6 separate regions of the Homo sapiens genome follow, and all the other regions are linked to region 1. Evidence: promoter capture Hi-C in human tissues and cell types (Jung and others, 2019). All regions are on one chromosome and are shown on one strand. The core of a region is centred on a gene start or on the middle of the fragment in contact, and the rest is flanking DNA. Distances in the headings are between cores, read along the strand shown.

Region 1 (4,457 bases), core at 1,173-3,672:
CCTCATTGCTCTTTCTTTTCTGCTGGGTGAAAGCTGAACTTTATCCTAACATGTATATTACTCATTAGGAAGATTAGCCTGGGGCAAGGCAAAATACAGGATGGTTGGAACAAGAGGAGCATTGGAGGTGGGAAGACTAATTGGGAGAACATTTCAATAGCCCAGATAAGAAGTGAGGAAATAAGAACTGAGCCAGTGTGGTAGCAGTGGGAATAGATGGGATGGGCAGATGTGATAAATATTGTGAAAGGAATCTCTGTGGGACTTGGCAATTCATTAGATGAGAGAAGGCACCACAGAGGGAAGAATCAAAGTTCGCTTTGAAGTTTCACACAGAGGTGACTGGGTCATCAATTATGTTTTAACCGAAGGGATGAGCAGGTTTGAGGAAGGCAACCATGAGTTTGGTTTTGAACATTTTAGTTGGGACGCCTGCAGGATATTCAGGTGAAGATGTAAAACAGGCAGCCGAAGACTCATTTCTGGAGCATGATTTGAGAGTCTTTTGCATAAACGTGGTAGTCAAAACAAAGGGAAGGGCTGATTGGCAAAACACAGTGTGTGTCTGTAGGAATTACTCTTTCTTCAGTGCACATAGAGAAATGAACTGCATTCTGGAAAGCCAGATATAAATATGTGCAGCTCTTCATCTGACACTACCTCCCCCGCCCACCCCCCCCCCCCCCACACACAATCCTTACAAGTTCTAGCCAATAGCTGGCTGGCTCCAAGCAATAAAATACTCACTGTCTCAAAATTTGGACAGCTCCTTAAAGTTCCTTATGAAGGCATTTTGATTTGCACAAATATGTCATGACATGTTTTAAGATGACTCCTTTATAGCAAGAAATCTATAGTAAATTGCCTTCCTCCTTAATTGAGGTTAGCCACAATTAAGTCTTCCCTTGCCTGGCACAGTGGGTGGTGCCAGCTACCAAGGAGGATCCCATAAGCCCAGGAACTGGGAGACCAGCCTGGGCAACATAGCGAGACCTTGTCCCAGAAAGAGAGGAAAGAAAGGAAAGAAAGGGAAAGAAGGAAAGAAGGAAGGAAGGGAGGGAGGGAGGGAGGGGGGGAGGAAGGAAGGAAGGAAGGAAGGAAGGAAGGAAGGAAGGAAGGAAGGAAAAAGAAAAAACAAAAGACCACCCACGGAAGTCTTTAAAGAACAATTCACAAGCAGAATAAAAAAATATAAAAATATAATAACTGTGATACAGTAAAAAGACTCAGCAGAAGTTTCCCTTGTAACTCGCGTGGCCAAAGCAGATATCAAATAAAAGATGAAATAAACAGGAAATCCATAGAACGTGAACAATAAGGAACCGTTCAGGATGGCCAAACCGCCGTCTGCGCTGTTTTCTCGCCAGGGCTCAGGCCTGGGAACGGAAGAGGTTAAAATCCAGTGGCTTGTGTTTCAGCTTTGGTTACGTGGCAGAAACCAACTGGAAGTGGTGGCGTGAGAGCTCTGTTTCTTCTAGAAGAGCTTTGCGTCTTAAACGCCCATACCGCAGACAGCTGCCTGGCGGGCGACCCAGCCCCATCCTGATGGCCCCAGGACACAAGCCCAGGAGCGCCCCGGTGCGCGCGGTTCCGCGGCCCAGGGGCGCCGGGTTTGGTGGCACAGCGAGCCCCCTTTCTCTAGCGGTATGGCTGCGTTAGAGCCCTAATGAGCGCGTGCGAAGGCTCCCCTTATTCATCCATCCTCCGGTCCGTCCTTTGTCTCAAGGCCGGGGCCTTGCTGGGCACCATGGCGTGCTTTACCGCACAAGCCCCTGAGGACCCCTGGAAGAAGGGATCTTCCGCAGGAGGGGACGCGACGGCAGGACCGCCCCGGGCCCCCTCACCGCGCCCGGCCCCCTGGCGGGAGAGGCCGGCGAGCTCTGGAGAGGAGCGCGGGCCGCGCGGGGCGAAAGCGCCACCCGGGAGAGAGGGATCCTCCCCTCTCCTCCTCTCTTCTCCCCTCCCCTCCCTCCCCTCCCACAGTCCTCAGGAGGAGGAACGCCGCTGCGTTCTAAGTTCTCCCGGGCCCTCTGGCCCCGAGGACTCAGATCCCGGCCGCGGGAGAGGGCCCGGCAGGTGCCAAGGAGCCCGGGCGGTCCTTCAGCCCGCACTTCCCCGCGGTCGCCCGGAGCCGGCCTCCGTTAGCCGGGCGGGTAGGCGGCTATTGGCGCCAGGATTGGCCGGCGCCGCCCGCGCCCCCGCGGCCTCGGGTGGAGCCTCCCGCCCGGCCGCCCCCTGCGGCACCCGCGACACGGGTGGGGACCAGAGGCTCCCGGCGGCGGCTCCCGGCGGCGGCTCCCGGGCTGTGATTGGCCAGCGCCACAGGGGGCGGGACGGCGGGCGTGAAGTGAGCGGGCTGGGGCCGCTGGCGCGCCCTCCTACTTCCCCGTCTGCGTCCGCGTTCGCGGCTCCCGTTTGCATCATCTCCAGCCGGCGGCTGCTCCAGGGAGGCTGGGCGCGATCCTCTCCGCCCGCGGCTCCAACCCGCACTCTGCGCCTCTCCTCGCCTTTCTCGCACCTGCTCCTGCGCCAGGCCCGGAGACCCCCGGGGCGGCTTCCCAGAACCTGCGGAGCACAACTGGCCGACCGACCCATTCATTGGGAACCCCGTCTTTTGCCAGAGCCCACGTCCCCTGCCACCTCTAGCTCGGAGCGGCGTGTAGCGCCATGGAGAAGAGCAACGAGACCAACGGCTACCTTGACAGCGCTCAGGCGGGGCCTGCGGCCGGGCCCGGAGCTCCGGGGACCGCGGCGGGACGCGCACGGCGTTGCGCGGGCTTCCTGCGGCGCCAAGCGCTGGTGCTGCTCACCGTGTCCGGGGTGCTGGCGGGCGCGGGCCTGGGCGCGGCGTTGCGCGGGCTCAGCCTGAGCCGCACGCAGGTCACCTACCTGGCCTTCCCCGGCGAGATGCTGCTCCGCATGCTGCGCATGATCATCCTGCCGCTGGTGGTCTGCAGCCTGGTGTCGGGCGCCGCCTCGCTCGATGCCAGCTGCCTCGGGCGTCTGGGCGGCATCGCTGTCGCCTACTTTGGCCTCACCACACTGAGTGCCTCGGCGCTCGCCGTGGCCTTGGCGTTCATCATCAAGCCAGGATCCGGTGCGCAGACCCTTCAGTCCAGCGACCTGGGGCTGGAGGACTCGGGGCCTCCTCCTGTCCCCAAAGAGACGGTGGACTCTTTCCTCGACCTGGCCAGGTAACACTCTCCACCTCTCCCAGGGCCCAGTGGGAGACGCCAGTTCTCGGATGCCCTCCAGTTCATACACCCATATGCTTATACACTCCTAAGAGTTAATTCTTAGCTGGCTGCTGGTGGCGTTTAACGTTTTAAAAATATCAAAATGACGTCTGGAGTTTTTGCGTGCTGACCACACCTTTGCAAACAGCTGGGGCGCACCGCACAATCGAAAGAGCAGGGCCGCATCTTTGAGCAAGAACCAGTCCCCACCGTTAGGTGGGCGTTTGTTAGGGAAGAGCCAGCCGCCCCGCCTGTTCTTTACTCCTTATACTCTCGCGCTGCTCTCCCCGGTAAAAATGTTCCGACCACGCCCCAGTGGCTTCGCCTCATTTTCTCCCACATGGTGCCTAAAAGCTTCTGGGAGCATTGGTTAAGTTTTGCCTCTTGGGTCATCCGGCTTGCAATCTATGGCCTTCTCTGTTACAGTCCTTGGCTGCGAAGGAAGCTGGCAATTTTCTGCAGTTATCAGTGGACCCACGGATAATAGGGCTGGGGTTAGTTGAGTGAGACATATTGCCCAGAAATATGCCTCTCCTGAGGGCTTGGGGCTTGGGACAGGTTGCTGTCCACCCCAGTAAAGACCACGGCAGAGTGCTGTGTTTCAAAGGCCTTTCTTTGTGCGAAAGTGTGAGTTCTAGAGGGGAGGGAGAGAAGCATCTTCACTTAGTTTTGCCTGCTTTTTGCAATTCTTAGAAGTTGCATTTCATCCTTTGAGATGATGTAGTATCCTTTCTGTGACTTATCCAAAACCTTGGTCTCTCCTGGTTTCTCCATTAGCCCAAAGTTCACAAATGGGGAAACTGCAGCCCGGAGGCATTTACTGATCTAACCAGGTTCAGTTGAGTGAGGAGTCCAGCTGGCTCCTTCTCCAGATTTCTGATGATTTTGGATTCTGAGCCTTGGAGTTATTAATATATTTTGTCTTGAGTTATTGAGGCAAAGCTCCTCATTGCTGAGGTTGTGAAAAACAGCAAACCCTGGGCAAAGTGACTTGCCTTTCCAACTGTTTCCATTTCTCCTTCTGGAAAATGTGATGGCTGTCTGCACTTAAGAGAGAGATTGTTCACTTAAAACAACAAAAATCTAGGACATCCGTATTTAAAAACAAACAAACAACAACAAAAAAAAACCACTCATGAGGGAGACCAAAAGTTCTTGCCAAAAGGGCAGATAGTGGTGGCCTATTAGGACTTTTAAGGGGATCACAGCTTTTTTTTTTTT
Region 2 (4,457 bases), core at 1,418-3,917, 490 kb before region 1:
AGCAAGCTGTTAAAATCCTAATTATCCCCTGGGAACCTGGCCCTCTCAATTTCAGAAACTAGCTCCTTTATAAAGGAAGGAACTCACACATACACAAGTCCCCATCCATACACACCATGAATAAAGTATATTGATCTTCATTTCCAGGAAGATACTCTAAGTCATTTCCAGGAAGATAACTCGAAGTCATTCCTTGACACGTGGACTTTCTGTGTAATCCCATCACTGATTACTCAAAACAAAGTCAGCTTTCTTCCTCTATTAGCCTGTTTTGCATTGCTGTAAAGGAATACCTGAGACTGGGTAGTTATAAAGAAAGGAGGTTTATTTGGCTGTACAAGCATGGCACCAGCATCTGCTCGGCTTCTGGAGAGACCTCAGGAATCTTTCAGTGGGAAGGCAAAGCGAGAGCGGCATGTTACATGGTGAGAGAGGGAGCAAGGAGGGAACGAGATGCCTGGTTTTTATAAACAATCAGCTCTCGTGTGAACTAATAGAGCAAGAACTCACTCATTACCCATTACTGGGGAAGTAGGGGAGGTGGGCGAGGGGGAGTGGGTGGAGCAAGGTGGGGGGTCACCAAGCCCTTCATAAGGGATCTGCCTCTATGATCCAAACACCTCCCTGCAGGCCCTACCTCCAACACTGGGGATCACATTTCAACAGAGATTTAGAGGGAATACCTATCCAAACTATATCACTACCTATTCCAGTGTTGGCAGGAGCTGGTTTTTGTTGGAAGACATATTTGTGTCAACCATGTAAAAAGCTTATTCATATTCCCACTGCCTTTTGATACCACACCATGGCCAATTACGGATGAAATGCCAGTTTCTTTCCTCCTAGGTTTTTGTGGAGAGACTGAGAAAATCACTTCCTGGAGAAATGAAGGCTGAAAGCCCTGGCAAAAAAGGAGATGGTTCTCTAGAGACAGGCAGGAAAAAAGTTTCAGGAGGAGACATGTCAGGTGCTGATGCGAGAAGCAAAGGTACCAATGTTGATGGCACCTTCTTCCAGATCGTAAAGGGCTTCTCCTTGGGTTCAAGCTTTCTGCAAATGGCAGCAGCTGGGCAGGCTGCTAAGCATAGAGGAGAGTTGCCCTCACCTGATCCTGAGAACCAAGACTAAGTAACGCATCCTGGAAAGGCCCAGGCCAAACAGAGGCCCTGTGGCGAGTTGCTCCAAGGGAAACCCAGGAACGGAGAAGGAAGGAGGAAGTTTGGGAAGCAGACCCATGCTTTGACTGAAAGGTGAGCAACAATAGAAGGAAGGGGAATAAAAGCCTTCCGCTTTCGTCATCCCTGCAAAGAAAATGGAATTCATAAATTTGAGACTCAAATGTACTCTGCAAAATTTTAAAATTTGCAGCATTTTGTTATTTGGGGGCCGGTGTTAGACTGCAGATAAACATGTAGTTTAATACATACATATTATATCAGATTACATATTGCTACAATTATTGGAGTTGCTTTGCTGTTTGCAAAATGAGCCTTGTAGGAAACAAGTGTTTCCAAGTAAATGATGACTGAAAGATTCTATGAAGAAGAAAAAAAATGTAACCATAAGGTTTAAATGCTTTAGAGGAAGTCAAGCTTGGAGGACAAGTTATATTTGTGTTTAGAAGCCATGCTGGATGCTACAAGTGTGCATTATGAATGTGCACAGTAAACGGGAGGCAAAGGAGCCAGCAGGGCTATGAGGATGGGGGTGCTATGGGGACATAGTCATAGACAGTTAAAGAGCATAAAGAATATCGACAGAGTTCAATGAATAGAATGGAGCTACCCTGGGAGATAAAGATACACAATTAGGTTGAAGCACAACCAGATAGGTGATATATTATGTTCTTTCTCAAGGTTGGCTTTTCTGTGCTGTTTATCTCCCAAGAACACTTGAGTTGTTGCAAGCAAACTTTCTGGGTTTTTTTTTTTTGTGGAGATGGAGTTTTGCTCTTGTCACCCAGGCTGCAGTGCAGTGGCATGATCTCAGCTTACTGCAACCTCCGCCTCCCGGGTTCAAGCGATTCTCCTGCCCCAGCTCCTGAATAGCTGGGATTACAGGCACCCACCACCACTCCTGGCTAATTTTTTGTATTTTTAGTAGAGACGGGGTTTTGCCATGCTGGGCAGGCTGGTCTCGAACTCCTGACCTCAGGTGATCCACCCTCCTCAGCCTCCTAAAGTGCTGGGATTACAGGTGTGAGCCACCACTCCTGACTGCAAAGCAAACTTTTGAGCTGAGAACTGAAGTCTCAACTCAAGCACAGTCCACTAACTGTCTTCCCTATTGCTGTAGAGCCCTTGGTAGGGAACTAAAGACCTTCCACAAGCTGATCTCAGTCTGCCTTCCCAAACTAAGGCACAGAAGAGCCAGCAGTTAAAGTATTAGACTGGGAAAAGATGAGTTAACTTTGGGCCTCTCTAACCCCACTTTGGTAGTTGAGAGATAGCACTGGTTGCCTAATAAGGAGTGGGATGGTGGCAAGTACAAAGCTTGCTCATCCATCCAGGCATTGTCCTATCCCCTCAGCTGCCCTTTCTACTTCCTTCCTCCTTCGCCCCCACCCCATCTTCAAGGAATTTAGCTATACTCTGCAGGTGCCCTCTGACCAGCCAAAATCATCATCACAGCCAAAACCATACTTGCCCACCTTTTGACATGCTTCAAACTTACTACGCACCTTTCCTTTCACTTTCTACCCAACTCTCCAGACAAATTCACAGAGAAATCCTGGCATTATTGTCATAGCAAAACACAGTAGAGAAGCCTTACTGTTAATCAACATGGGGATTAGCTAAAAAAACAAAATTGTGGGCCGGGCACGGTGGCTCACGCCTGTAATCCCAACACTTTGGGAGGCCGAGGCAGGCAGATCATGAGTGAGGAGATCGACACCATCCTGGCTAACACAGTGAAACCTCGTCTCTACTAAAAATACAAAAATTAGCTGGGCGTGGTGGCGGGCACCTGTAGTCCCAGCTACTGGGGAGGCTGAGGCAGGAGAATGGCGTGAACCCGGGAGGCGGAGCTTGCGATGAGCCAAGATCTCGCCACTGCACTCCAGCCTGGGCAACAGAGCGAGACTCCACCTCAAAAAAAAAATTGTGGTTGACCCCATTAAGGAATACTATGCAGCCATAAAAAAGAAGAGGAATGCACTGCGTGAATTAATAGGGGGAAATGTCCATGAGCATTCTTTTTTCCCAAGTAATTTTCCCAACACTATGTCTGGAGAGAGATGAATCCATTTTTTATAAAATAAAACAAAATAAAAACTATATAGATGTCCTGAGACCCACCCCCACCAAGAGTATGCCTGCAGAAAAACAGGTAGTCTGACTTGGCTAAGGTCCGAGCTACTTGCCTTGCTGGTTTGGATTGAGTATACACACTGGGTGAGTCTAACGGTGGACGTGGAGGAGTAGGAGAACCAGAGCCAGTTCAGGTGCAGGGAGGCTGGGAGAAGGCAGGCTTGGAAGAAAGAATGAGGAAGGGAAAAGAAAGGGCAAGAGAGACAGAGAGAGCAGGTGCTGTGGGGAGAGGAACTACTTCGGGGACATCCTACTGGCTACCCTGAAAATCATGGGAGTATTTTGGTGTGATCACCACTTTCTAAAGCCAGTTTTTCAGCTTGGAATATTTTTTTTAGCCACTGTGGAAGAAACAAAACTTCTCATCGAATATTAGGTTTATAAACTGTCAGAAGAACTTTATTTTAAAGCCACTGCAAAAGGAAAATAATTGAGCTGGTGTTTGCTGCCTAAAACACCAGAGGTCACATAGTATGGTCTTAAAGAAGAGAAACTCAGGGAAAGGAGGGAAAGAAGAAGAAAAATGCTTTGAACTTAATATGTATATATCTTCATGTGACTAATAAGAGGTAATTTTTGAGCCATTACCATCTGCTAAAATTACCTTTCATGACTGGCTAAGCCTTTATCACAAGCCTTTCAATTCATGCAGATGTAACAGGTTTACATTTTACATGGATAAGGCCCTGCAGAAAAACAATTTGACAACAATGGTGTCCTTATCCCTTCATAATTAATGACAACAGAGAAATCTGTATCTTGATGGATATCAGCACACATGTTTATCCTCATTCGAGACCTTCACCCCATTCCAATAGTCAGCTGTCAAAAGCTTTTTGTTTAGTTCATTAGGTTCTCACTTCAGCTTCCTTATAAGCAAAAACAGATGACTTACAACAGAAGATGGAATAAGCAAAATATTTTAGATCCGAGTTATTTGTTTCACAGATTTCATTTAATGTAAACTGATTCCCTTCATAAGGGGAGATAAACTCCTGGAGAGTTCTGTTGTTGTTTCTAATTTAAATATATTTTCTATATTTTCCAAAAGGCGTAAATAAATGTGTTTTAATTTGTAACCACAAAAATAATTTTTAAAAATAGTAGAGATCAGGCCGGGTGTGGTGGCTCACGCCTGTGATCCCA
Region 3 (4,457 bases), core at 1,414-3,913, 450 kb before region 1:
TTGTGATGTAGAAAGCAGCACTGTCAGAGGAATGGCAGCTGCCACAGTTACGTTTTTAGGTTACAGACTAGAGTGGTATTTTTTCATTTTGAAAGTCCACACAGTAGTTTGTTACTTTGTTTTTCTGGGGATTTTTTTTCTCAGTATACACTAGTCACTTGAGGTTTAACTTAGTCTTGACCAAAATGCTAATTTAAAACTTTACAGCAAGAAACTTACTTTAAAGCATGTCTGCTGTTCATGTCAGCTGATTGCAAAATCTTCTGTGGGAAAATTTTCATGAAGTATTAAAGTCCTGGGGAGCAGAGAACAAGAAAAAGAAATTAGTTGGACTATCCAGAGTGTAGCATTATGCTCTGGCGACACTCACTGACACCTCTGCTTATGCTGAGGAATTGTCTCAAATCAAAGCAAATATTCATGATAGCAGGTCTAAAAACTCACTACAAATTTTTGTCATTTAGCTAGGGTTTTTTGCAGCTTGCATATAATGTACTGCCCCTCTTAACATACTTTCTCTTTAGACATGTTGCAGCACAAATGATTGGGTTGTTTGTCCCACATTCATCACATTTCAGGCCACATTTCAAATCCCACTTATTTACCTTGATTACATTTGGATATTTCATAACTTATTTGGTGAAGCACTAAGAGACCAGAGGTGTGGTTATAGAAATCTAATTGGAGTGTGCGTGAGTTGGAGCACAATTCAAGAGTGGTTAGTAGAATAAATGCCCCAGCAAGAATGATGATAATATATTTAGTTCCTGCTGTGAGCCAGGCTCTGAGGATGCAATGGTAAACAACAGAGGTCTATGCCTACACAACATTTACAGTCATTTGAGCTCAAATAAAGTAACTCTTGAAAGAGCAGTTTCGGTAGAGCGGTAGCATGGAAGCCAGATTGTGTTGAGTTGAGGAGTGAGTGGGAAGTTAGGAAGTCGAGAGAGTGAATAGGCACATCTCTTTCAAGAAGCTTGGTGGTGAGGAGGAGAAGAGCTAGGGCGCACAGAAGAGAGGATTCTGTTTTGTTTTGTTTTGTTCTGATTTGTTTTGAGTATGGAAGAGGCTGAACGTTTATAGGAAAGGATCAATAGTGATGGAAAATTTTTAAAAGCCCCTGAGCAAGCAGTTGAGAAGAAAAACAGAAGGTCCAGGGATTATCTGTAGACAAGATTGTGGATGTAAGCAAGATTTTAGTGAAGGGACATGAAATCAAAGCAGTTTCTGCCTTTCAGATTCTATTTTCATTGCAGAGTTTCAGGGATATGAGAGTAGAGAATTAGAGTGACTAATTTATTCTGCATCTATATAATAGAAGCTGAGAGTTCTAGGGCAAAAAAAATGTTTTCCAAGGGCTAATCCATCCATCCTCGTGGATGCTTCCATTTTGTTGCCCTTGTTATCAATAGTTATCCAATGTTATGTATTCAATTTTATGTTGAAGTACCTTTTGGGAAAAATAGCTAGTAAACTCTCAAATATGGTCAGCTGATATGATGAGTTAAAGGTACAACAATCTCTAATATTTTTATCTTGTTTAATTATTACATGAAACTATCCAAATGCAAATAAAATATGTTATTATGAATTTGTGTAGAAGGTTAAAATGTTCGGTAGAAGAAAAAATTTTTCATGGGAATTTTTGAAAACCAACTTCTCTCAAATAACTCATTGCTGTTTAACAAGGTAAGTAGCACTTGAAAAGTGAACGTGTGTTGCAGCTCATGTAACTGACATTATATATATATTTTTACTTTTATGTGTCAATTGTATTGACATCAAAACTAGAAAGACAAAATTTTTTGTTGTCACTATTGACAGTGTGGCTTTTTTAGGGTGATCAACTTCAGTATAAAGGTATTTTGCTGCTCATTTTCATTGTTTGCTCATATTTTGTACTATATACACTAATACTGAAACAAGATATTTGCTGCTTGGCATTTTTGTTGGTTATACTGTACTTTCTTGTCTTGTAAAAATCTTTCCCCTTCCAAGTTACTTGGAGGTTTCAGAAACCTTTTTCTGAACCACTCAGAAGCCTTTTTGTAAGAATTTTTATAATTGTAATATTTGCCGTCAATCACGTCTAATATTTTAAGACACTTATAAAATGTTTGATTAACTTGTGATTAATTCACCACTTACTAGTTATGCTACCTTGTAGGATTACTTAACCTCTTTGAGCTTTTATTTCTTCATCTTTAAAATGAAGCATTTCCACCTCATATGATAGTATGAGGAGATAATTGAGATAACTCACGAGTTCTCTTCACATAATATTGGCCCATAGTAAGCACTCAATAAGTATTAATAATGACATTGGTGTAAACATGGAGTGAAAACACGTGGAAGATACTATTTATTTAACAAATGTCATCTTAAATAACATATTATGCAGTTGGTGACTCAGTGACATACAGTTGGTGTCTGATATCTTGGGTTTTTGTTTTTAGGCTGGCAAGTTAATTAGAGGCTCTGCCTGTATTAATTTCTGTTGTGCTAATATGCTAAGAACAAAAGAAAAAACACCCAAAAAGAAAAAACAATTATTTCTGTAGATTTTAAAATTTAGAGCTGTGAAAACAACTGTGATATCATAGCACTCTAAATATATTGAAAACCAAAAAGTTAACTAAAACCCAAATCTTCATGTGGTTCAGAAGAAGGGCTCTTTTCTACTTCTTTATGACTCAAGCAGAAATGTAGGCTGGGCAAATTCATTGACAGTACATTTTGATATGACCTTAAAATTTCCATAAGGATATTATAAAGATTTGGAAGAATTTGAACTACTGTACACCAGGCAACACTTGTAATGTAAATTGATGTTGTTAATGCTTACGTGACATTTTCATTCATTTTTCTAAAGAAAATACGGTTTTTCTTTTTTGTTTTTTCCTTCACTCACCCAAGTGACTAATTATAAACCTCAGACATATTGTGGTAAAAAGATGGTGATTATTTTTTGTCATCCATTAAATATACTTTGCTAATGTCATTGATACTATTGAAGTCATTAGCATATTTCAGATACAGTTGTTTTTCTTCTCCCTTTTATCACCATCCTTCTTTCTACAATATCTTTTCCTTCACCCTCCATCCTGGTCCCTATAAAAATAAGTTTAGAGTGAAGCTGGGTTGTATAATCTAGGTCAGTTTATCTGTCCTTGAAAGATGATGTACACATTGATACAGCTGGGCTGGTACCCTGTAAAGGATGGGAGTTTCTCCCAGTTGAGCAGTGTGTGCTGTATGTTTTTAACTTGTCTGGAAAGAACTCTCGATGTTTGATTCTGGAAAGATTGCTAGAGGGCCTCTTACTTAGAGACACTCCACCCCCCTCAAATGTGAGCCCATGGACCTTTAGGGTGCATGATACTGTGTGTGGATGTTGGGGGTAGGAGGGTACCAGGGATTAACTATTCCTTAGAGGAATACGTAGGGAATACCCTATATATTTCCCACATGTGATGAATCTTTTCCATCCCAACCAAGCACCTTCTAAATTCTTGTGGTTGTTCATCTAACCAAATAGGAGCTACAGGCAGTTTACTTCAAGATACCAGTGAGAACTTCCGGGTTGCATTTTTCTATTTCACTTCAAAACTTCCATCTTTTAACAGACTGGTCACTGGACCCTTGAGCTTGTTTAGAGGTTATGATCTCAGTCCTTCAACCTTGGGCTTCAGATTTAGTTTGTTATCAGCATCCCCCCGCCCCCATGCCCCCAAGCCTATGAAATTATATAGTTATATAAGTCAAGTTTTATATTTTCTAGGGATTGGTTAGAAAAACTGGCAATAAAGTCAACTTCATGTATCTTTAGTGTGGTTATGCATATTTTTCTTAAGTGACTTATTCTTTCAGTGACCTTTTAAAATATAGAGTCATATGAATGTTTGTGCCAACTAAGCAAACATTGACTTAGGTTTTGTTACAGATAGGTTATTATTTTAGCCACAGAGTTGGTGAAAGTTAAAATATAATGGTAGTTGATCATTTACTTAGTGCACAGAATGTGCCAGGTACTGAAGGTCTGGTATAGTTTTAGTACATATTATCAAACAGTTTTCCGAATATCTGTACCAGTTTATACTTCCACCAGTAAAGTGTGGGAATCACAGTTTCTCCACATCCTTACCAAAAGTGGCTGTGGAGAGAATAATTTTAATTTTAGTCATTCTGGTAGATGTATAGTGGTATTTTATTGTTGTTTTAATGTACATTTTTCCCTGATGACTTTTTATATGCTGTTGGCTATTTGGATATCCTGTCTTGTGAAATACCTGTTCAAATATTTTGGCCATTTTTCTGTTGGATTGTTCCACATTGACTTGTAGGAATTCTTTCCATATTCTGGATATGAGTTCTTTGACAGTTACATGTTTTGCACATATCTTCTCCCAGGCAATGGCTTTCTTGGTTTTTCACTCTATGGTATTCTTTTGATGAAG
Region 4 (4,457 bases), core at 668-3,167, 410 kb before region 1:
GTGTTTTGAAGAACATACTTTAGAAAATGTGTAAAGCATAGGTCCTGCCATTTTAGGTGTGTTTCAAGAAACATCTAATATTACTGCTGTGTACCACTGTGTTTTATACTTGGGCATAGCTTAAATGTTACTTTGAAGCCAGCTTATTACTAGCACTGAATTAGTGGGCCAGAGGACCTTGATGTTTACAATGCCTGGCCTTGATGGTTGGGCAGCAGACAAAGTGGCTTGGGCAGAATGTCTCCGTAGGTAGAATCTGTTCTTAGTTACCTTAATTTTGCTGCCCTGATACGCCCTCTGGCTATAAACTGCTATCCCAGGTCTGCCCTGTCTATGCATATTTCAGAATTACCTTTCCCACGGCACATTTTTATTTCTGCCTCCATCTGCATTCTTATTCCTACAGTGTTAGGTATTAGGAAAGTATTTTGAGTAACTACTTGGTACATTCATACTTGGTACATTCACTGAAAATGGAGCTGTACTTATTGAGACCATTTGTTGCTAGTTTTGCTTGCTTCCTCCTCCATCTAACCACTTCCACCTTACAACCCCATAAACTATTGCTTATTGTATCAGTTAGCTGTTGCCTGTAATTTTTTCCTCTAGCTGATTTGATCTTACTGTGTATTTCATTTTAGTCATAGCTTATCATGTTTCTTTTATAATTTCACTATGGACTTGACAAAAAAGTAGTCCAGATGACCTAATGAAAAACATGTTTAGAATTTTGTGCTAAGATGCCTGACCTCCATCACAGAATTGTATGGTCCTTGCTTGACTCCATACCTCTGACTCAGGTTAAAATATTTAACAGAGCAGGCTTGGTGGCTCATGCCTGTAATCTCAGCACTTTGGGATGCCAAGGCAGGTGGATTGCTTGAGCCCAGGAGTTCGAGACCAGCCTAACCAACGTGGCAAAACCCTGCCTCTACAAAAATTAGCCAGGCATGATGGCATGAGCCTGTAGTCCCAGCCTCTAAGGAGGCTGAGGTGGGAAAATCACTTGAGCTCAGAAGCTTGAGGCTGCAGTGAGCCATGTTCACACCAGTGCACTCCAGCCTAGGCAACAGAGTAAAACCCTGCCTCGAAAAAAAAAATTTAACAAACATCTGAAGTACATTTTCTAAAGAGTCTCTTTACAGAAAATTTTATATATATATGTATGTGTGTATATGTGTGTGTGTGTGTGTGTGTGTGTGTGTGTGTGTGTGTATATATTTTTTTTGGAGGTAGAGTCTTGCTCTGTCACCCAGGCTGGAGTGCAGTGGCATGGTTTCAGCTCACTGCAACCTCCACCTCCCGGGTTCAAGTGATTCTCCTGCCTCAGCCTCCCACGTAGCTGGGACTACAGGCACACACCACACCACCAGACTAATTTTCGTATTTTTAGTAGAGACAGGGTTTCACCATGTTGGCCAGGCTGGTCTCCAACTCCTGACCTCAAGTGATCTGCCCACCTCAGCCTCCCAAAGTGCTGGGATTACAGGCGTGAGACATCGCACCCGGCCTAGAAAATATTTCTTACCACTCTTCTTTGGCATGCTACACACACACACACACACACACACACACACACACACACACACACGTGTGTCATACAAATGAAATACGTGTGTGTGTGTGTGTATGTATATATATATGGATTTACATATACATATATATATATAACATATATATATATGTAAATATATGTAATTTTACTTTTTGGCCATGCAGGAAGTTACATCTTCCTACGCCCCTAGCCTTTAGTGCTAGAAGCAACAGTGGCTTTCAAACTTAGCACAAGCACAATTGTATAATTCCCCTTATGACTGCATGCTTTTGGGTCTGTCTGTCCTATCCCAATTTTGGTACCCATTGAGTTTGTTTTTATCTTCCAAATTGGCTTGTATTCATTGATCTTATAACTATTGCATCTCTTGTTTAGAAATTTATTAACTTAGTTTAAGGGTGAAAACAGTAATTTTACCTTTTTTGGGATTGTGTGTGTGTTTTCATTTTTATCTGCTGAATTTCAAGGTCACACCATTGTGCCACTACTGATTTCCCTCTTAGTAAGGTCAATACTTTACACTTTATTCATTGCTGAGTAGGGTCAACACTCTGACTGGCAGTTATCCATCTAGTCACCGGTAGCAACTTCTCTTAGACTGCCTGATGTATTTTAGTTGTGAATCAGAATTTTAGAGCTAGAAAAGAAAAAATGATTATGTAGTTCCATGCTCACTTTTTTTTTGTTGTTTTTGAAACAAGAGTTTTGCTCTGTTGCCCAGGCTAGAGTGCAATGGCGCAGTCTCAGGTCACTGCAACCTCTGTCTCCTGGGTTCAAGCGATTCTCCTACCTCAGCCTCCTGAGTAGCTGGGATTGCAGGCACCTGCCACCACACCTGGCTAATTTTTATATTTTTAGTAGAGACGGGGTTTCACCATGTTGGCCAGGCTGGTCTCAAACTCCTGACCTCAAGTGATCCACCCACCTTGGCCTCCCAAAGTGTTGGGATTACAGGTGTGAGCCACCGCGCCTGGCCACCATGCTCACTTTTTACAGCATTGGAAAGGCTAAGTGATTTACCCAAAACCATGTATTAGTGGTACTGCTAGGACTGGAATCCAAGCCTCCTGTCTCCATGTTTTTGTTCTTTTTTATTGTGACCTTATTTGCCTAGTGCTTTTATCTCTGCAGTAATAATTCATACCACATTGCTTCAAGTGGTTTTAAAATGCTTCATTCTCAAGCTTTCTCTGAGTTTCCATACTTGTATACTTGTGAACATCATTAGTTTTAGTCTTTTTTTGCTTCGGTATCCTGTTTTTCACCTTTTTCATTTCCGTTAAATGTCGATTCGTGTTTATCACCTCATTATGATTTTGGCTGTCTTCAAAATACCATACCCCTGTTTGAGCAGCTCAGATTTCAGCAAATCATTAAATCATTGAAATATTTCTAAGCACCCAGCTACTTGACATCATTCAGATAGAATGTGTTCATGAAAGAACTTGCTCCATTTATTCAGAAATCGTTATTGTATAAACCTAGATTTTGTCCATTCATTCAGTGTTGAATATGCCCAAAGGTGTCACTGATCTAGAAGTGGAGTAAGTTGAATCTGCTAGAATGCTTAGAGATGTTTGTTTCCTTTTATGATCAGCTAAAGAAGATATTTCTAAATATTTATTAGCTGTGCAGGTAGGTTATAAACTAGGTTTTCAGCAGTTTTTTAACTTTTATCTGAAATAATTATAGATTCATAGGAAGTTGCAACTGTAGTACAGAGAAGTCCCTTGTACCCTTCACCAGTTTCCTCCATGGTTACATCTTACATAATATGCTATAATGTGAAAACCAGGAACATGACATTGGTACAATATGTGTATATAGTTCTATATCATTATATCACATAGGTAGATTCCTGTAACCACCACCACCAGTCAAGATACAAAACTCTTCCACCACCACCATTAAGAACACCCTTAATAGTCACTGCCCCACAACCATCCCTATCCCATCCCTTACACCCACTAACTAATGTTAGTATTTTACTTGGTTTATACCTTGCTCCAGGCTGGACCTGATTTTTGGAGACTAAATACTTAAATTAATTTGCCTGTCATTGGTATCCCAGTTATCCAGACAGTCGTATTATAATATCATGGAGTTAGACTTTACAAAAATAACTGATTCATGCTCCTTTTCTATAAAAAACAGCAAGTGATCTTACCTACCTACGCAGAAAAAAATATAAAGTTTTAACAGTGCCTGCCTTACAATAAAGCGTAGTGGTAAGCGATGTCCAAAAAAAGACGATAACATTTTGATATCAAAAGTCTAATAAAATACAGGTTATTTTAACACCATCCCCAAAAGAAAAGAAAAAAACAACCAACATTTTTTCATGTAAGAATATTCTTAAAATGAAGTGTGAATGCTTATTTTAAAAATGTGTTTGCACTGCCTTCCATCTTAAATTTACCATTTGCTTATTTTATATGTTTGACAGTTACGAAATTTAAACCCCTGGAATAGTGAATTTTTTTTTTTTTTTTTAAACAGTCTCACTCTGTCGCCCAGGCTAGAGTGCAGTAGTGGCACGATCTCGGCTCACTGCAACCTCCACCTCCCGGGTTCAAGCAATTCTCCTGCCTCAGCCTCCCAAGTAGCTGGGATTACAGGCGTGTGCCACCATGCCTGGCTAATTTTTTTTTATTTTTAGTAGAGACAGGGTTTCACTGTGTTAGCCAGGATGGTCTCGATCTCCTGACCTCGTGATCTGCCCACCTCGGATCCCAAAGTGCTGGGATTACAGGCGTGAGCCACCGTGCCCTGCCTGAGCATCCCTTGAGTGTATTGTTTTTAAAATTCTATGCTCGCTTCAGCAGCACATTATAAAATTTGGCAAGGTCAGAGGAGATTAGCATTGCCCCAGTACAAGGATGACACCCACAATTAAATTCTG
Region 5 (4,457 bases), core at 841-3,340, 410 kb after region 1:
TTCTCTTCAAATATCTTTTGCTCTGGCTAAAGCCTGCTCAGTTCAAATCTGGAATTGAACTGTCTTGGGTTCAAATCTCCACTCTAACCACTTATGAGCCTTCTCGGGCAAGTTATTTTAATGCTGCAGGCCTTAGTTTTCTTATGAGGAAAAAAGTTTTCTTATGAGGAGGATTAGATGGGATAATGTGGGTGAGGCCTCAGTCAAGGGCATGGCAACGCAGTTAAAGGTTGATTACTCTTCCTCTCTTCCACCTGTTTTGGTTTTGTTTTCTAACTTTTGTGCTATATCTCTGCCTAAAACTTCCCTCTCTGCACAGATAAACCTGTCCTTCAAGGCTCAACTCAAATGTCACCTTCTCCATGTGGGTTTACTTGAAACCCACCCACTAATTTCCTTCCCCCACCAAATACCTACGGCGCATCATGCTATTCTTGGACACAACAGCAAAAGCTCCCGTGTGCTTGCCCTATGTCCTACACTTGACTGACAACATTTGTGGACAGGCCCCACGTCTGATTCATCTTTGAGTTCTCCACACGGTCCTGCATATAGCAGAAACTTGGTAAATATTTGCTGAGTGAAAGAACAAATTTTTGGAGCAAAGGCAAGAGGGAGTTCCAAGCTTTGAAGACTACGGAACCAGCACTGTAGTATAACTGAGCAACAGGACAGAGATGGGTTTGTCCTGGGACATACTAGAGAAGTAAAGAATTTTTTTATTCCAAAGGAGCAGTGAAGCCAAACTATACAAAGTGAAGTGAAGCCAGCTTCCCCTGTCTCCTCCAAGTGAAGCATGGCCGCCTCCCCAGAGCCAAGGGTGTTGCCATTTTAAACAAATAAGTCACCCTGCTCTGATGCAAACAGCCCTCAGTGCTTCAGTCCTGAAGGGAGGGACTCTTGTATACCATGCACTTGAAAAATTAGATCTTTGTTTCCAAGAGGCTATTCTAAACTTCTAACCAGGCCTGTCTGCTTAGCAATCTCCTTAAAAGCATGTGCTGGTAGCAAGTACAGCTGCATTCTTAATCACTTACACCCCACAACCAACTAAAGATAGCTTGAGGAGGTCTGCCATATGCCAAATTCTTCTTTTAAATAAGAACACAAGAATCGTTCATGAAAAAAAAAAATTCAGTCATAGCCATCAGAAAAGGGAAAAGGAAAAAGATTTGACTTTTCTCTCCTTGTTTTGAATGAAATACCAAAGTAGAAAAATTTTGATAAAGAAACAGATACACACTACATCTTGGCACCAGGCTTATGCATCTGCATGGCCTGGCCTCTGAGACCCCTATCACAGTATTTACTCCTGAGTACCCTGAAAATGACTCAGGCCTGTCACAAGTTAGCCACAGACAGCGCCAAGTAATAAACCCAGCCCTCACCGCCCCCATCCTGAACAAATGAGCAGGGTTAACTTTTCTCACTGGCAACCAGAATGGGTTGTGGCTTATGACATGTCTCTCTTTTTCCTTTTTACCTAAACCCTACTAATCACTCAAAGCAAAGCTCAATTCCTTTCTCTTCTGTCAAGCTTTTCACAACTACCTAAACCAAGATAATTTCTTGGTCCATCACTAGGTCCAACCCTGCCCAGCTGTGGGCAGAATGTCCCAACCTGACCCTTCACATTTCTACAATCTGTTTCTAGCATCACTTTTTTTTTTTTTTTTTGCCCTTTACTCACAATACAAGGTAACATATGTATAATCCACAGACCCAGGCCTTTCTAAATAGATTGCCCACTTCCTGAAGACAGGAGCCTCATCTTAGCTAGACTCCTTTAGACATATCCCCCACTCCAAAGTACCTGAGCTACATGGATGAGTAGAATCGATATTGTGAAAATGACCATACTGCCAAAAGCAATCTACAAATTCAATGCAATTCCCATCAAAATACCACCATTATTCTTCACAGAACTAGAAAAAAAAATCCTAAAATTCACATGCAATCAAAAAAGAGCCTGCATAGCCTAAGCAAGACTAAGCAAAAAGAACAAATCTGGAGGCAACCTATTACCTGATTCCAAACTATACTGTAAGGCCATAGTCACCCAAACAGCATGGTAGTGGTATAAAAATAGGCACATAGACCAATGGAACAGAATAGAGAACCAAGAAATAAAACCAAATACTTGCAGACAACTGATCTTTGACAAAGCAAACAAAAACTTAAAGCAGAAAAAGAACACCCTATTCAACAAATGGTACTGGGATAATTGGCAAGCCACATGTAGAGAATGAAACTGGATCCTCATCTCTCATCTTATACAAAAATCAACTCAAGATGGACCAAAGACTTAAATCTAAGGCTTGAAACCAAAAAGATTTTAGAAGATAACGTTGGAAAAACCCTTCTAGACATTGGCTTAGGCAAAGACTTCATGACCAAGAACCCCAAAGCAAATGCAACAAAAACAAAGATATATGGGACTTAAACTTAAAAAGCTTCTGCACAGCAAAAGAAACAATCAGCACAGTTAGCAGACAACCCGCAGAGTGGGAGAAAATCTTCACAATCTATACATCCAACAGAGGACTAATATCCAGAATCTATAAGAACTCAGCGAGAAAAAAAAAATCCCATCAAAAAGTGGGCTAAGGACGTGAATGAACAATTCTCAAAAGAAGATATACAAATGGCCAACAAGCATATGGAGAAATACTCAACATCACTAATTATCAGGGCAATGCAAATCAAAACCACAATGAGATACCACCTCACTCCTGCAAGAATGGCCATAATCAAAAGATCCAAAAATAATAGATGTTGGTGTGGATGTGCTGAAAAGGGAACACTTTTACACTGTTGGTGGGAATGTAAACTAATACAACCACTATGGAAAACAGTGTGGAGATTCCTTAAAGAACTAAAAGCAGAACTGCCATTTGGTCCAGCAATCCCACTACTGGGAAAAGAAGTCATTATATGAAGAAGATACTTTCACATTCATGTTTATAGAAGCACAATGCGCAACTGCAAAAATATGGAACCACCCCAAATGCCTATCAACCAACAAGTGGATAGAGAAAATGTGGTATAGCTGGGCGCGGTGGCTCATGCCTGTAATCCCAGCATTTTGTGAGGCCAAGGTGGGCGGATCACGAGGTCAGGAGATCGAGACCATCCTGGCTAACACGGTGAAACCCTGTCTCTCTTAAAAAATAAGCCGGGTGTGGTGGCGGGCGCCTGTAGTCCCAGCTACTTGGGAGGCTGAGGTAGGAGAATCGCTTGAAGCTGGAGGCAGAGGTTGCGGTGAGCCGAGATCACGCCATTGCACTCCAGCCTGGTCAACAAGAGCGAAAATCTGTCTCAAAAAAAAAAAAAAGGTGTATATATATACACCATGGAATACTACTACTCAGTCATAAAAACGAACAAAATAATGGCATTTGCAGCAACCTGGATAGAACTGGAAACTATTATTCTTTTTTTTTTTTTTTTTTTGAGAGGGAATCTCTCTGTCGCCCAGGCTGGAGTGCAGTGGTGCGATCTCAGCTCACTGCAACCTCTGCCTCCCGGGTTCAAGTGATTCTTCTGCCTCAGCCTCCCTAGTAGCTGGAACTACAGGTGCACGCCACCACGCCTGGCTAATTTTTGTATTTTTAGTAGAGACGGGGTTTCACCATGTTGGCGAGGCTGGTCTCGAACTCCTGAGTTTGTGATCTGCCTGCCTCGGCCTCCCAAAGTGCTGGGATTACAGGCGTGAGCCACTGCGCCTGGCCTTAACTGGAAACTATTATTCTAAGTGAAGTAACTCAGGAATGGAAAACCAAACATCATATATTCTCACTCATATGTGGGAGCTAAGCTATGAGGACACAAAGGCATAAGAATCATACATTGGACTTTGGGGACTTGGGGGAAAGGGTGGGGATGGCAAAGGATAAAAGATTACACATTGGGTACACTGTATATTGCTCAGGTGATGGGTGTACCAAAATCTCAGAAAATACCACTAAAGAACTTATTCATGTAACCAAACACCACCTGTTCCCCCAAAACCTATTGAAATATAAAAATTAAAAAACAAAAAAACAAAAACCCCCAACAAAGTACCTGAGCTAGTCTCAGCACTGCAGGGTATACACAGGTATAAACTCTTCTCCAATGAAGTTACTGATACTCAATCCTTCTGACATCAAATTCAGTGATTACCTATTAGTTTTCTGAGGTTTAGCTCTTATATTATTCTGGTCCCTCCACAATCCTCCCCCTCAATCCTTCTTAAATAGTTATATGACACTTTTAACTAAGTCAAGATTTGGTGATAAAACTTATGATTATATAAATATTCAGGGCCAACCCTGGAATAGTCCATGGTTATATTTTCTTTCTTATAACTTTCTGCTTTATTCCTATATTAAATATTGCCTCCCTGTTTACTTTTGCTTAGTTTTCTATGTGTGAATTATTGTTTCATCCACAAATAGGGCCAGAAAAAAACAAGT
Region 6 (4,457 bases), core at 1,418-3,917, 370 kb before region 1:
AATCCCCATGACCATCTCCATGCCTCCAAGACTCTCTGTGCCAGCCCGGAGGGGAAGCTGTCCGCAAGGTCTCTGGCTCCTTAGTGCAGAGCAGGGTCTACACTAGGTGCAGAGCTCTCTGGTCAGCGCAGCAGTGGGCCTGCCACCCAGACACACAGAGGTGGCTCAGCAACAGTCAGAGGCCCTCAGACAACATCGGGAACAGAAGTGGCTGTATGAGCTTCTAAAAAGCCCCATCTGGAAGCTGGAGAAGCTGGGCCCATTTCCTAACTCAGAGGAGGCCACAGTCCCTGGGGCAGGAACTGGCCCCTCCTATTCTTCCCTTGCCCTCCAGAGTGGGGTTGCCTGGGACCAGGTCCTCAGAAACTGTGATGGGAGGAGGGCACCTTTACAACAGCAGGTGGAGCACCTGTAAGTCCTAAGTTCCCTTCCCCAAAGACCAAGAAAGAGTTTGGAGAAGACTGGAGCCAGCCTTGCCTTCTCCTCTCCTGAAGGAATGGATACATGAATGAATGAATGCCTCTACTTTACTCTTTTATTTTTAGAGTTAAGGTAGAGAAAGAATAAAATAGCTGTGGATGTACAAACACCATTTAGAACACAGTTAAACAAGCCCAGAAGCTTAGTTGAATACAAGTGTCAATAGGCAACCACATTTTGCATTTGCTGCCCAGCAGCTAAACCAGAACTGGGCCCTGCAGTGCAGTAGTTTGGCCAACTGTTTAATGAATGAATGACATGACATGACCACACATTTCAGATAACGGGGAAAACGGGGAGGAAGCTTTGGGGGGTGTGTCTCCGCACCCACATAGAGTTGAAGTCACTTGTACTTGGTATAACTTGACAGCTCGGTGAGCTTTAGAATCAAGCACCCACAGATGGGGAAATCTCATTTTCTAAATGAAATTAACAAAGTAGGAGGGGCAGATCAGGGTGTTTCAATTCATACCCCAGCCTGCTCTCCTAGCAATCTGGTAACTAGACCAGAGCTTCTGCTAAGTAAGTTAATCAAACAACACCTGCTGGGGCGGTGCTGCCCACAGACTTGCCCACCATTCTAAGACCCTGTACACACACACACACACACACACACACACACACACACACACACACACTGTCATCCTGTTCTGGGCTATTCTATGTGTTTGATGCTTGAGCCAAAGATAGAATTTGTGTGGACTGTTTTCCCTGAACACTTAACTTTTGCCTGACCAGGTACCCAAGAACTCTTCCCGAGAGCCCAACCCAGGCCTTGAGCAGCCACATTGCCACAGGCCCTCTGGCTTTATTGCTGTGTTGTTGACTCAGCTGGGGATTTCTGGTGGCTTTGAGATTCTCTCTCCATCTGGACTCAGTCTCTGAGGCTCCAGACTCCTTCCTAGTCCCTATTTCCTCCTGTCTTGTCCCCCTTGGACTCACCTGGGCAATGGGCTTCTCCAGTCTGAAAGGGTCAGGCCCTGTTAGGCTGGGGCCACTGCCCTGGGCAGCATCTGGAGTGAAAGGCAAGCTGAGCTGCTGTCAGGCCCTGAGAAACAGGTATTTTTATTCCGGGGAGTGGCCCCTTTTCGGGACTCAGACCCTGGGAATTCAGGTGCCCCACTCAGCTCTAGCTAAAGTTGGGCTCCCAGGACCCTCACCAGGCTAAGAGTGAATGCGCTTGGGTTTCTTAGCTCCCCTGCCCCCCCCACCATTCCCCATAGTGGGTTCCTTTTGTCTTCACTAAATCCCCTCCAATCTCCCCTTCCAAAAGGCAGCAGATCCAAGTGGAATTCAACACCCAAACACTCACACAAAGGCAAGGATTAATAGCTGGCTTTGTCTGGGCACAGATGTGCAGCAGCTTGGCGGGGGGGTGGGGAGGGGGCATTTTTTTCTTGCCACTTGAGTCAGCTGGGTTCTGGCTCCGCACTTGAGGGTGGGGAGGGGAGGAAGCTGGGGAGGAACTGCTGCATGGATTCCCCTCGAGGGCACCACACCCGACTTCTCTGAGCTGGTATGTTCTTGGGAGTCTGGTCCCCACGAAGGAGAGACTTCCTCTACAAAGTTCTTCTCTGGCTGGGAGGCCTGTCAGCCTCTCTTCCTTTGACTTCAACAAGTCACACTCACAAGCTGGTGCGCAGTCTCTGGACTCAGTTCCTGTTCTTCCAGAGCCTGAGCTCTAAAACAGGCCCCAGACATTCTCAAAGAAACCCTGAGAGCTGAGCGGACTAACTGGGACACTGACAGGAGGCACACGGGGGCATACTGCAGGAGGATGGGGAATGTTCCTGGAGGAGCTGGGGCTTAATCTGAGCTCCAAAGGATGGACAGAGGGGAAAGAAGGGGACTTCTTTGCAGCGACTCCAGGAGGGGTCAGTGGGGCAGGAGAGAGCAGGGCCTTGAAGGTATGGGAAGGGGAATGAATATTTCCTGTGGCAATAGGGAGCCACTGAAGTTGTAGATCAGAGTCAGAGCTGGAGAAGCACCATGGGTGTAAGGAAGCCTGTTCTGTTATTGGGCATAGAACAGGCTGGAGGAGGTGGTAGCCAAGGAAACAAATGGGTGTCTCTGGGCCAGAGCTCATTCTCACTCAGCCCCTCTGCATCCAACAGAATCCCTTATTTGAACAATCCATGCTACTATTCAACCACACAATCACGGAATTACAAATTTGGTCCTCAATATTTAGGGACAGAAATATCATGTTTCCCTATTGTTCTATGTCAGGTAAATTAGGCTTCATTCCTAAACACAGAGCTCATTGGAAATATGACATCAGTCAAGTTTGGGGTGAAGGGGTGCTTCCCCTTCCCTAGGGTGGGACAAGTATCTGGGGTCTCCAGACCAGCTGGTCTCTGAGGGGCTTGTTGATCAAGACAAGACCCCTGGTATCAGGAGGTTTATATGCTAGAGGAGGAAAAACAGTAAGAAACAAGGAAGCAAATGAATAAATGGGATAGCTTTAGATCAAGTTTGTCCAACCTGTGGCCTGCAGGCCACGTGCAGCCCAGGACAGCTTTGAATGCAGCCCAGCACAAATCTGTAAACTTTCTTAAAACATTATGAGATTTTTTTTTTCCTGAGACAGAGTCTTGCTCTGTCACCCAGGCTGGAGTGGAGTGGCATGGTCTCGGCTCACTGCAGCCTCCGCCTCCCAGGTTCAAGTTATTGTCCTGCCTCAGCTTCCTGAGTAGTTGGGATTACAGGCATGTGCCACCACACCCAGTTAATTTTTTGTATTTTTAGTAGAGACGGGGTTTCACCATGTTGGCGAGGCTGGTCTCGAACTCCTGACCTCAGGCGATCTGCCCACCTTGGCCTCCCAAATTGCTGTAATTATAGGCATGAGCCACCATGCCTGGCCAAACATTATGAGTTTTTTTAGCAGTTTTTTTTTCCTTTTTTTTTTTTTTTTTAGCTCATCAGTTATCATTAGTATTAGTGTATTTTATGTGTGGCCCAAGACAATTCTCCTTCTTCCCATGTGGCCCAGGGAAGCCAAAAGATTAGACACCCTTGCTTTAGATAGTGACAAATGCTGGAGAAGAACAGACTGATATGTCTGGCTGGGATGAGTGGTCAGAGAAGGCTACTCTGAGGAGAGAGCATTTCAGCTGAGAACTGGAGGATGAGAAGGAGTGAGACATAGTAGAATCTCATCTAGTCTAGATATTTAACCCTTTTTGGTCTAAAAACAGTAATTTCAGAGAGCTCAACGTAATACAGAGATAGAGGTGCTGAGCATATTTAATGCAAAGGAATGGAGGCAGGACTGAGATTGGAGTGGCAGTCTCAGCTCAGAAAAGGTGGTGCAATGACAGGGCACTGAGTGAGGGACACATAGGAAAAAGTGAGCTCAGAGGGCAGGTCTGGCTAGAGAAGGAGTTGAGAGTCTAAGTTCAGTGGGAAAAATAAATTTCGAGGGTCAGATTGTGAACTGATTCATGTTTGGAATGTTAAAATGTTGAATGTTTTACAATTTGAAATTAAAGACAATACCATTTACATTAGCACCTCAAAATAAGAAATACTCTAGTATAAATCTAACAAAACATGTACAAAATCTATATGAGTAAAACAATAAAATGCTGGTAAAATAAATCAAAGATCTAAATAAATAGAGAGATATTCCATGTTCGTGGATGGTGAGACTCAATATTGTTCAGATATCGGTTCTTTCCAGCTTGATCTATAGATTCAATATAATCATAATCAACTCCCAGTTGTCTCTTTTGTGGAACTGGCAAAGCAATTCTTAAGTTTATGTAGAGAGGCAAAAGACTAGAACAGTTAACACAATATTGAAGGAGAAAACAAAGTCAGAGGGCTGACGCTACCCCATTTCAAGATGTACTGTAAAAGCTGTTGTGATCACCTGCAGTCCCAGTTACTTGGTGAGAGGATTGCTTGTGCCCAGTAGGTCGAGGTTGCAGTGAGTTATGACTGCACCACTGTGCTCTAGCCTGGGCCACAGA

Evidence for each region. Contacts are between HindIII fragments. The study calls those that stand out against the background at their distance.
Region 2: a contact is called between a fragment that was not itself captured here and the fragment with the promoter of SLC1A4 in region 1, in 4 of the 25 tissues and cell types used here (adrenal gland, aorta, dorsolateral prefrontal cortex and 1 more).
Region 3: a contact is called between a fragment that was not itself captured here and the fragment with the promoter of SLC1A4 in region 1, in 1 of the 25 tissues and cell types used here (lymphoblastoid cells).
Region 4: a contact is called between a fragment that was not itself captured here and the fragment with the promoter of SLC1A4 in region 1, in 3 of the 25 tissues and cell types used here (bladder, lymphoblastoid cells and spleen).
Region 5: a contact is called between a fragment that was not itself captured here and the fragment with the promoter of SLC1A4 in region 1, in 1 of the 25 tissues and cell types used here (spleen).
Region 6: a contact is called between a fragment that was not itself captured here and the fragment with the promoter of SLC1A4 in region 1, in 1 of the 25 tissues and cell types used here (lymphoblastoid cells).

What each region holds. Positions count from the first base shown.
Region 1 is chr2:64,986,977-64,991,433 of GRCh38, forward strand. SLC1A4 (solute carrier family 1 member 4) reads left to right here and starts at 2,423. Exons shown (of 8, transcript NM_003038.5): 1 at 2,423-3,194. The coding sequence starts at 2,668. RefSeq lists silencers at 1,733-2,432, 2,643-2,822 and an enhancer at 2,425-3,009. The HindIII fragment of the contact is 13,271 bases long and covers 1-4,457 here.
Region 2 is chr2:64,499,673-64,504,129 of GRCh38, forward strand. It overlaps LINC01805 (long intergenic non-protein coding RNA 1805), which reads left to right. Exons shown (of 3, transcript NR_147011.1): 3 at 847-1,232. Among named protein-coding and RNA genes, the nearest start is that of LINC01805, 16 kb to the left of the region's middle. The HindIII fragment of the contact is 3,520 bases long and covers 908-4,427 here.
Region 3 is chr2:64,538,907-64,543,363 of GRCh38, forward strand. The region is part of intron 1 of AFTPH (aftiphilin); the gene reads left to right. It overlaps LOC105374773 (a long non-coding RNA gene), which reads right to left. Exons shown (of 7, transcript XR_007086343.1): 7 at 1-295. Among named protein-coding and RNA genes, the nearest start is that of MIR4434, 16 kb to the left of the region's middle. The HindIII fragment of the contact is 8,455 bases long and covers 1-4,457 here.
Region 4 is chr2:64,574,528-64,578,984 of GRCh38, forward strand. All of the region lies in intron 6 of AFTPH (aftiphilin), which reads left to right. All of the region lies in intron 4 of LOC105374773 (a long non-coding RNA gene), which reads right to left. It also overlaps the pseudogene RNU6-100P. Among named protein-coding and RNA genes, the nearest start is that of LINC02579, 31 kb to the right of the region's middle. The HindIII fragment of the contact is 4,167 bases long and covers 1-4,001 here.
Region 5 is chr2:65,395,950-65,400,406 of GRCh38, forward strand. All of the region lies in intron 1 of SPRED2 (sprouty related EVH1 domain containing 2), which reads right to left. Among named protein-coding and RNA genes, the nearest start is that of SPRED2, 34 kb to the right of the region's middle. The HindIII fragment of the contact is 5,409 bases long and covers 1-4,457 here.
Region 6 is chr2:64,615,970-64,620,426 of GRCh38, forward strand. LINC02579 (long intergenic non-protein coding RNA 2579) reads left to right here. Exons shown (of 4, transcript NR_034023.1): 4 at 1-513. Among named protein-coding and RNA genes, the nearest start is that of LINC02579, 11 kb to the left of the region's middle. The HindIII fragment of the contact is 5,254 bases long and covers 41-4,457 here.